3 separate regions of the Homo sapiens genome follow, and all the other regions are linked to region 1. Evidence: promoter capture Hi-C in human tissues and cell types (Jung and others, 2019). All regions are on one chromosome and are shown on one strand. Each heading gives the region's core, a stretch centred on a gene start or on the middle of the fragment in contact. The rest is flanking DNA. Distances are from core to core; before and after follow the strand shown. Region 1 holds the start of PAK2 (p21 (RAC1) activated kinase 2). Region 2 has its middle 11 kb from the start of DLG1. Region 3 overlaps DLG1 (discs large MAGUK scaffold protein 1).

Region 1 (3,129 bases), core at 242-2,741:
ATTACTATTCACTGCCTTCATCCCAATGTAACTTTACTGAGTGTTATTCTATTGGACAACCCTACAAAAACAAAATCCCCAGAGCAAATTCTTGTACATTTCAATATCCTGCCTACTTATAAGAGCGGAAGAGTCGAACACAGCAGGGGAAAAAACGTGACGTGCACAACCTTGATCCAAAACACAGCTCTTCGTAGTTTAATTTTAGGCCTAACCATTTTGTCTTTTTATAAAGGTTAAAAAAGAAAACAAAGAAAGGACACATCGCCTGTAACGCAGAAGTGAGATAATGATATCAACCGGAGTTCGTTATTTATCAAGGGACAACAAATCACGCTCACACTGCCCAGGGAGAGTACTACTAAAATTAAGATACAAGGATGGGTACAACCTCACACCCACTGACGATGACACGCTTCTGTTCTTGGATGACTTATCTTTAAAGAATTAGTTAAAAGGTTGAGTGGCAACGTTTTGTGTTTGTGCGTGCGTGTGTTTCCAAGAGAGCCAAACATGGTGAAAAACCAATCTTAACTTCACCTAAGTTATCTAAAGAAGCAAATTTCACCCCTAGGCTGAAGCTCAAACAGGAGCGAGGAGAAGCTCCGAAAGATCAGTTCGTAAGCGGTGGCCCTCAAGCGCCCGGGACGCTCTACGTTTTTACCAATGTGGAATGTGGAAAAGAGGTTACAGGCTGGAGCTGAGAAAACAGTCAAGCTACTCGCGACAATATTCCTGAGCAGTGAAACGGGTGAACAGAGAGCGAGCAAGCAGGGGCTGAGAATCAGTGAGAGGAAAAATCAAGGAACAAAACCGGAGAGTCTGGTCCAGCATTAAGAAAACGGAGCAAAGGAAGAGGGTGAAACGCGAGGGGAGGGAAGACCGAGAGTCGGCAGAGACCGTGGTGCCGCGAGGTTCAGAGCAGGGCTGGGTCCAGGAAGAGTCAGACCTCCGCAGCCCAGCGAGCTTCCCATTTCTGGCTAAAGCCAGCGAAGAAAACGGCCCTGGGGAGCAGACAATGAGCCACCGCCCCAGGAGCTGCGGCTCCCAGCACGCAGGTGGCGGCTCCCCGGCCCCGCGCGGGGCAGGTCGGCCGTCCCGGGCCGCTCCCGCCCGCCAGGCCACGGAGAAGGAAGGAGGAGGAAGAGACCCGGCCTGCGTCCCGCGCCGGCCGGCCTGTGTGCACTTACCCCGGGCAAGGCAAGGTCCCCGCCCCAGCGAGGCGCCTCGGTCAGAGCTCCCGGCGGGCTGCGGAGCCGCCCCGGGCTAGCGCGCGGTGCGGGGAGGGGAGGGGAGGGAAGGGGAAGCGGGGCGGGAAGAGACGCCGCGCTGGAGCAGCCGCTGCTACCGCTAGGCCCAGCGGCGGCGGAGTCCTGCGCACGCCAGGGAGGGGAGGGGAGGGAGCCTTCGGCAATGGCGACGGCCCGGGCCGGAGGGGAAGCGGAACAACCGCCGCCGCTGCGCGTGGCCACAACCCTGGGGGAGGAAGACGGCGGGGAGCGGGGCGGGGCGGGGCCAGAACCCAGAACCCCTCCCGCCCCGAAGCCGGAGCTCCCCGGGGCGGAGACGAGCGCCACCTCCCATGGGCAGGCCCGCGCGGGGGCCGCTGGGAGTAGTAGTTCGGTGATAGACGTTGCTTTTATTCCTTGGGTAGTCTTTGTATTGAGAGGAGCAGCCAGTCCCTCATTTAATTCAGCATTGTCTCCAAGCAGGTCTCTGCCGACGGAAGACGCTGACAGACGATTGCTGTTATACACATCTGCTCCGCGACATTTGTTTCTGGGAATTCATCCGTTATCCATTTTGCTTTTTTGCTTACAAATTCTTAACTAAAATTTTGCTGCTAAATTAAGTATCACCTCCTTGCAAATTAAGACTTCCCTATTTTATCCACGGAGGAGTTCATCAATGTTTCACTTATTCTACAAATATTTGAGTGTCTGATATGGACTAGACACTGTTAAGCATCAGAAATACAAGGGTGGTTCAGGTGCGGTGGCTCACGCCTGTAATCCCAGCACTTTGGGAGGCTGAGGCAGGCGGATCACCTGAGGTCGGGAGTTCGAGACCAGCCTGGCCAACACGATGAAACCCCGTTTCTACTAAAAATACAAAAATTAGCTGGGCATGGTGGCACGCATCTGTAGTCCCAGCTACTCGGGAGACTAAGGCAGGAGAATCGCTTGAACCCAGGAGGAGGAGGCTGCAGTGAGCCAAGATCGGGCCACTGCACTTCAGCGTGACAGAGTCGTCATGCCTCAAAAACAAAACAAAAAACACAAAAGAAATGCAAGGGTGAACACGATTCACCAAGCCTTTGTGGAGCTTATATGAGGACGCAGTAATTAAAGTAGTCACACCTGGTATAAGAAAAAACTTGGCGAGGTTACTTTGGATAGGGTGGTCGGAGAAGGCCTCGTTAAGGAGGTGACACTTAAGGCAAGAACAGAAAGAGACAGCAATAAGAAGCACCCAGAGAAAAGCAATACAGGCAGGAGAAGAAAGAAAAGGGCTTGCTACGGTCAGTTAAGAAGGCCTGTGTAGCTGGGGCCTAGAACAAGAAGGCGGTACTATTAAGAAAACACTACAGCAGACAAGATTCAGGTCATGAAAGATCCTGAATGCCATGGTAAAAAGTCTATATTACAAAAAACCATTAAAAGGCTTTTTTAAGCAGGAAAGCGATGTTACCTGGCTTACACTTTAAGATCACTAGACTGCAATGTGGATAATGGAGTATAGAGATGCAAGAATAGAAGGGAAATAAAGTAGGAAGGCAGTGGAAAGAAAGAGGAATTGTGCTTCTCTATCAATGTAGAGCAAAAAACTCAATTGATGCAGTGGGTACAGGAGAGAAAGGAATCAAGGAGCAACATGGCACAGTAAGAGATAACCTGAAAAATGCTCTGATTATTAAACACACAGAAACACTGGATAAATAAGACATCCTTTCAAAGGCATAACTTGCAAGAATGAAAATAGAATGTTTCTGACAGTCTTCCAAATTTCACACTCAACCTGAAGAAGGGGCAGGACACCAGAGTGGTAAGCAGGGCAGTGAAGCCATGGTTGTGTTGAGGGCACCTACTTATCTCAGAAATCTCTAGAGTTTTAATAGGTGCACAGGAA
Region 2 (3,129 bases), core at 424-2,923, 570 kb before region 1:
CGCTCTGGACTGGCTAAAAGAGTTTGTTATTCGTGCAATAAAATCTCTGATCTAATCACGTCCCTGGAAAGCTATCTTTTACATTAAAGAAGACTGGAGTCAAGGATTTTAAAGTGCCGGGCACGATGGCTCACACCTGTAATCCCAGCACTTTGGGAGGCTGAGGCGGGTGAATCTCCTGAGGTCAGGAGTCCGAGACCAGCCTGGCCAACATGGCAAAAAATTAGCCGGGTGTGGTGGCGGGTGCCTGTAATCCCAGCTACTGGAGAGGCTGAGGCGGGTAAATCTCCTGAGGTCAGGAGTCCGAGACCAGCCTGGCCAACATGGCAAAAAATTAGCCGGGTGTGGTGGCGGGTGCCTGTAATCCCAGCTACTGGAGAGGCTGAGGCAGGAGAATCGCTTGAACCCAGGAGGCGGAGGTTGCAGTGAGCCAAGATCCCTCCATAGCACTCCAGCCTGGGCGACAGAGTGAGACTCCAACTCAAAAAATAAAAAATTTAAAAAAAAATTTTTTAAAGCAATCTTCTCCTAAGGAATGGTGATTTCTGGAGTAAAAACTTTCTCTGAATAGGAGTTTCCCTTGCTCACTCCTGCACCAGCCTTCTCTCCATGACCAAATTCATAAGGCACTCAGCAAGACTCTGTGCTCAGAGCCCAATTGCAACACACAGTACAATTATGCTGACCATGCCAAATACTTTGGCTTTGGAGAATAGATCTATTAACCCCAGCAACGTGGTTGTGTTCCTCAAGCGATCCTAGCCTAAGAAAAGACATGTGAATAGCCTGACCTCAGAGTCACCCTGGCCTGAGCTTGCCCTCAACCTGATCTGAACTTCCTGGCACTTGGGACCAGAATAATAGCAGTCACACCTGAGTTTCCAGTATAAGGTCACAATGCAAAGAAGAGAATCAAAAACACTGGTCCGAGAAGATCTTCCAAATCCCTTCCTAAATGAAGTGGTTAGATCAGAGATTTATGTTTGAGTTTTTATTCTCTCCTGATTTGTTCACAATTAACTTGCAAAGCTGTGTTAATAGGCAGCTTCATGAACAGAGATCCCAGAGGTTAGAGACCAATAAGAATTGTACAGTATTGCATCATTTCCTTGGGAAATTCTTCAAATTAAGCCACTAGCTGCATTCTTTTCTGGCTCAATTTAGGGTCACCAAACCATAGAAAAGAATGATTCACCAAACAAACTTTTGCTTTTCCTTTTCTGGTGCTTCATTTAACCGCTTTATGCCTCAGAGTAAAGCTATTATAATGGCATTATCCTTCTAATGAGGAACAGTGCAATGCTTTCCTGATGTTAATACCCAGAATTATGCAGTGTTTAAAAGCCACCGTGACTTTAGGGAATACTCACTAAGTTTTCTATTGCAAATACCCTAGTCATATTGAAAATGAATGAGTGTAATTCTTTTGGTGTTTTTAAAAAACGTACAATTCTTTTAATAAATCATAGTTCCCAAAAGGAATAAGAATGGTTCATTAGCAGTACTAATGAAAATTCCATCTTCAGTAAAACTTAGCAGAATATCATTCCCTGTAACAAAATGTTTTCAGACACTTTGTTTGCCAACTTTATTAATGGAGAACTTTGTGGTCTAGATTAGAAAACTGAAGATAATTGAGAGAAAGAGAAAGAAAGAGAAACCATCCTAGACAAGCAGTTATATGTATCATTTAAAAAATAATGGCTCAAACAATAGTGTCACAAATCTTCAGAGGTAATGAGAAATTTTTAAAAAAATTAAAAAGTGGCATAAAAAACATTGTTCTTAGTAAAATTCTTTTCCAGGCATTATATTTATTGCTGAGGTGTTCTCTTCATCCACTCGTTCGTGTTTAGCCAAGCAACCTTGAGAAGTTCGAAGTTGTTTGCCTGCTACAGACCATAAACAAAGACGGAAGATTTGAATTTTCAAGTCCCAAGGCTTCAGCTTTGCAATTTCCTTCTCAGACAAATTTTCCTAGAGAAATAGAATTTGTTTTAGTTCCTGGCTCATAGTAGTTGCATCATACAGATTAGTTTACTGAATGACCTGATGAATAAGGCTTTTATTAAAGTAGCAGACTAAACAATTTTTCTGTCTGTTTTTAGGAACTTTCCCTGTCTGTGGAAGTAAGTGATGACCACCTGAATGAGAACAGAGGCTATTTATACAGAGCTTGCTATAGCGAGGGAGTGAGCACCGTCACTTGCATTTGGCAGAGGCTCAAAGGCAGGCAAGGGAGTAGGAAAGCTTTATAATTAAAAGAAGAGAAAAGGAGATCCTCAGGTATGGAAAAGCTGGAGGCAAGATAACTAGAAGCAAGGCATTTTGTATGATTGATTTAGGGAGAATACTTGCCTTTCTCTGATTGGCCTTGAGTTGAAAGATGGTAAAAATTAGTGAAGCTGGGCCGGGCGTGGTGGCTTACGCCTGTAATCCCAGCACTTTGGGAGGCCGAGGCAGGCGGATCACGAGGTCAGGAGATCGAGACCATCCTGGCTAACATGGTGAAACCCCGTCTCTACTAAAAAATACAAAAAAAATAGCCGGGCGTGGTGGCGGGTGCCTGTAGTCCCAGCTCCTCGGGAGGCTGAGGCAGGAGAATGGTGTGAACCCGGGAGGCGGAGCCTGCAGTGATCCGAGATCGCGCCACTGCACTCCAGCCTGGGCGACAGAGTGAGACTCCGTCTCAAAAAAAAAAAAAAAAAAATAGGGAAGCTGGCAGTCATTGACCAAGTTCTGATTATTTTAGGCCAATTACTGCAGTGGTTGTTGTCTGATTTCCTGGGTTGCTTGCTGCAGAGGTTGTGGATCACAGAGTTCTGTTGTCATATATGGTCTGGTGTGTATTCAGTCTTTCATCATATATAGCAATTTCTTGAATTACTTTCTCATCCCAATCCCCCTTGACATTTCAAAATGTAGTGGCACGCAAAGTGACTTGCCAACTTGTTTAAATCCATTCGTTTTTGTTTGTTTGTTTTGAGAAGGAGTCTCGCTATGTCGCCCAGGCTGGAGTACAGTGGCGCAATAGCTCACTGCAACCTCTGCCTGCCGGGTTCAAGCAATTCTCATGCCTCAGCCTCCTGAGTAGCTGGGATTGCAGGTACCTGCCACCATGCCCGGTTC
Region 3 (3,129 bases), core at 352-2,851, 530 kb before region 1:
ACTGTAATCACGTTCTCCTGCCTTGTTCCCCAGAATTAACCTCTGTCTTGAATTTGGTGCTTGTCACTCACATGTACTGTTTATAGTTACAGTTTTCTTTACCTTTCTTGTGCCTGGGATTCATTGAGTTTCTTGGATCTGTGGGTTTATAGTTTTTACCTACTTTAGACGTTTTTCACCAATTATTTCTGCAAATATTTTTTCTCTTCCTTCCCCTTTGCTTTCAGGGATTCCAGTACTTGTATATTGGTTTGGTTGACTTTGTCTGCAGTTCACTGATATGATTAATCTTTTTTCAGTCTTTTTCGTTGGTATGTTAAATTTTAGACAATTGCTGTTGCTATGTCTTCAAGTTCATTAATCTTCTCAAGTATCTAGTATACTATTAATCTCAGTCAGTTTTTTATTTCAGACAGTTTACCTCTAGAAGCTTGATTTAGTTTCTCTTCTCTTCTCCTCTCCCTCTCCTTCTTTTTGGAGACAGGGTCTTGCTGCGTCGCCCAGGCTGCAGTGCAGTGATGTGGTCATGGCCCACTGCATCCTCAGCCTCCTGGCTTCAAGCAGTCCTGCTGCCTCAGCCTCCCCAAGTACCTGGGGCTACACATGTATACCACCAGGCTGGGCAATTTTTTTTTTTAATTTTTTGGCAGAGATGGGGTCTTGCTGGATTGCCCAGGTTGGTCTCGATAGTTTCGTTTTTATTTTTGTCTAATTAACACACTCTATCCTTCTCTGTCTTCATAAACATAAGGGACAGAGTTAAAGTAACTTTTAAAATGTTTTTGTCTACTGATTCTATTATGTGTCATTTCTGGGTCAGTTTTTATTGATTGATTTTTTTTCTCTTCTCTGGATCGTGTTTCCTTGCTTCTTTACATGCTTGATAATTTGGATGAATTTGGCAGACGTTGTGAATTTTACCTTTTGGGGGCCTAGATATTTTTTTATTCTTTTAAATATTCTTGAGCTTTGTTTTGGGATGTAGTTAAATGACTTGGAAAGAGTTTGATGCCATTCAGACTGCTTTTTTGTTTGTTTTTGAGACGGAGTCTTGCCCCGTTGCCCAGGCTGGAGTGCCGTGGCATGATCTCGGCTCACTGCAACCTCCGCTTCCTGGGTTCAAGTGATTCTCCTACCTCAGCCTCCTGAGTAGCTGGGATTACAGGCATGTGCCACCACGCCTGGCTAATTTTTGTATTTTTGGTAGAGACGGGGTTTCACCATGTTGGTCAGGCTGGTCTTGAGTTCCTGACCTCGTGATCCACTCTCCTTGGCCTCCCAGAGTGCTGGGATTACAGGTGTGAGCCACCGCGCCTGGCTGCTTTTAAGCTTTTTCAGTGGGACTGAGCAACATTTGGTTGTAGAAGGCTATCCCCACTGCCCAGTATATTATGAGTTTTCATTATTCTTGGCCTTGCGTGAGCTCTGGGTTTTGTTCCATTTGCTGCTTTCTAAGATTTTTTCCTCACCTTGAAGTTTCCTTACATGCATGTACTGATCAAAACTAATCTGAAGACTCGAGGGGAACTCTGCAGATCTCTGGAGCTTTTTCTGTCCCGCTCTCTCCTTTCTGGTACTCTTACCTGTGAGTTTTAGCTCTGTTTATTCTCAACGCTTTCTCCTCAACTTAAGGCTGCTGGGTTTCGTTGAGTTTCCCCCTTCTGCTACAGCCAGGAAACTTTTTCTGGGCATTTACAGGACTCACCTCATTAGTTTCTCTTCTCACAGGGTCCAGTGTCTGAAAGTCAGTCTTTTTTTTTATTCCATTATGGTTGGCAGCAATTGCTTGTTTATGGAAAGCCATTGGTATTCTAAAATACTGTTAATTATCTTATGTGCCTATTAGGTGAAGTGTTGCCATCCCAAAAGGCTTATATTTCAAGTCCTTCTAAAGTAGCTCATATTACAGGGTGATTTCTAAATTACTTTTAACAGCAAATGACCATCTGAAGAGAACACATAGGCTTGAAATGTACCTTACTCAGTGCCAGTTGGGTACTTACAGATACTTACAGAAGATGCAGTTAGTGTAGAATTTAACACAAATTGAATAATCATTCCCTGAGTACAGCCTTAAAACCTGTAAGTATTAGATCTATGCAAGCTTTTTTGAAGGATTATTAGGTATATTAAAAAATAATATAGTAAGGGGTTAGTTACATCATGAAGGTTATAAATACACGCCTACAGTACAGGGGAAAGTGGCTTCCTCTTCTGTGAATGAGCACTACAAGTTGAGTGTTCCTTATCCAAAATACTTGGGACCAGAAGCGTTTTGGATTTTGGATTTATTTGGATTTTGATATTTGCATTATACTTGTTGGTTGAATATCCCTGATCTGAAAATTCAAAATCTGGAACGTGGCTAGGCACAGTGGCTCACCCTTGTAATCCCAGCACTTTGGGAGGCCGAGGCAGGTGGATCGCCTGAGGTCAGGAGTTTGAGACCAGCCTGGCCAACATGTCAAAACCCCGTCTCTACTAAAGATACAAAAATTAGCTGGGCGTGGTGGCAGGCATCTGTAATCCCAGCTACTCGGGAGGCTGAGGCAGGAGAATCATCGCTTGAACCTGGGAGGCAAAGGTTGCAGTAAGTTGAGATTGTGCCATTGGACTCCAGCCTGGGTAACAAGAGTGAAACTCCATCTCAAAAAACAAAAGATAACAAAATCTGAAATGCTCCAACGAGTATTGTCTTTGAGTGTTATGCTGGCACTTAAAAGATTTTGGATTTTGGAGCATTTGGATTGTGGATTTTTGGATTAGGGATACCCAATCTGTAGTAGTAATTAGGGATAAATGGTCAAGTGACGTTGTAGTTCAGAAAGGGCCATATCTCAAACAACTTAAACCGTATAAAACTGATGTTTGAGGTCACAGAGATTAGATCATTAAAAAGTGGTTGTGGTTATGATGACCCTAGACATCGGAGATGAATGTGAGGAGTTTAACTAAAATTTGTTCTTTGAAATGTGACTGGAATAATATATTAGACATACTATTTTAATGTGTTGTTAAGTAATTATATGTTAACTGATTAATTTGGATATTTGACTATTTCATCTTATTCTTACAGGTTTGTAATTGAGTTGGCAAACTTCTATTTTTACTGGGAAAATGGAATGTCTA

What was found. The method cuts DNA at HindIII sites, captures the fragments that hold promoters and counts their contacts. A contact is called where the count stands out against the background at its distance.
Region 2: a contact is called between a fragment that was not itself captured here and the fragment with the promoter of PAK2 in region 1, in 2 of the 25 tissues and cell types used here (dorsolateral prefrontal cortex and hippocampus).
Region 3: a contact is called between a fragment that was not itself captured here and the fragment with the promoter of PAK2 in region 1, in 1 of the 25 tissues and cell types used here (dorsolateral prefrontal cortex).

Annotation. Positions count from the first base shown.
Region 1 is chr3:196,738,219-196,741,347 of GRCh38, reverse strand. It overlaps PAK2 (p21 (RAC1) activated kinase 2), which reads right to left and starts at 1,491. Exons shown (of 15, transcript NM_002577.4): 1 at 1,191-1,491. RefSeq lists a silencer at 911-1,700. The HindIII fragment of the contact is 11,501 bases long and covers 1-3,129 here.
Region 2 is chr3:197,307,752-197,310,880 of GRCh38, reverse strand. No RefSeq gene overlaps it. Among named protein-coding and RNA genes, the nearest start is that of DLG1, 11 kb to the right of the region's middle. The HindIII fragment of the contact is 4,492 bases long and covers 1-3,129 here.
Region 3 is chr3:197,263,961-197,267,089 of GRCh38, reverse strand. The region is part of intron 4 of DLG1 (discs large MAGUK scaffold protein 1); the gene reads left to right. Among named protein-coding and RNA genes, the nearest start is that of MIR4797, 28 kb to the left of the region's middle. The HindIII fragment of the contact is 3,222 bases long and covers 1-3,129 here.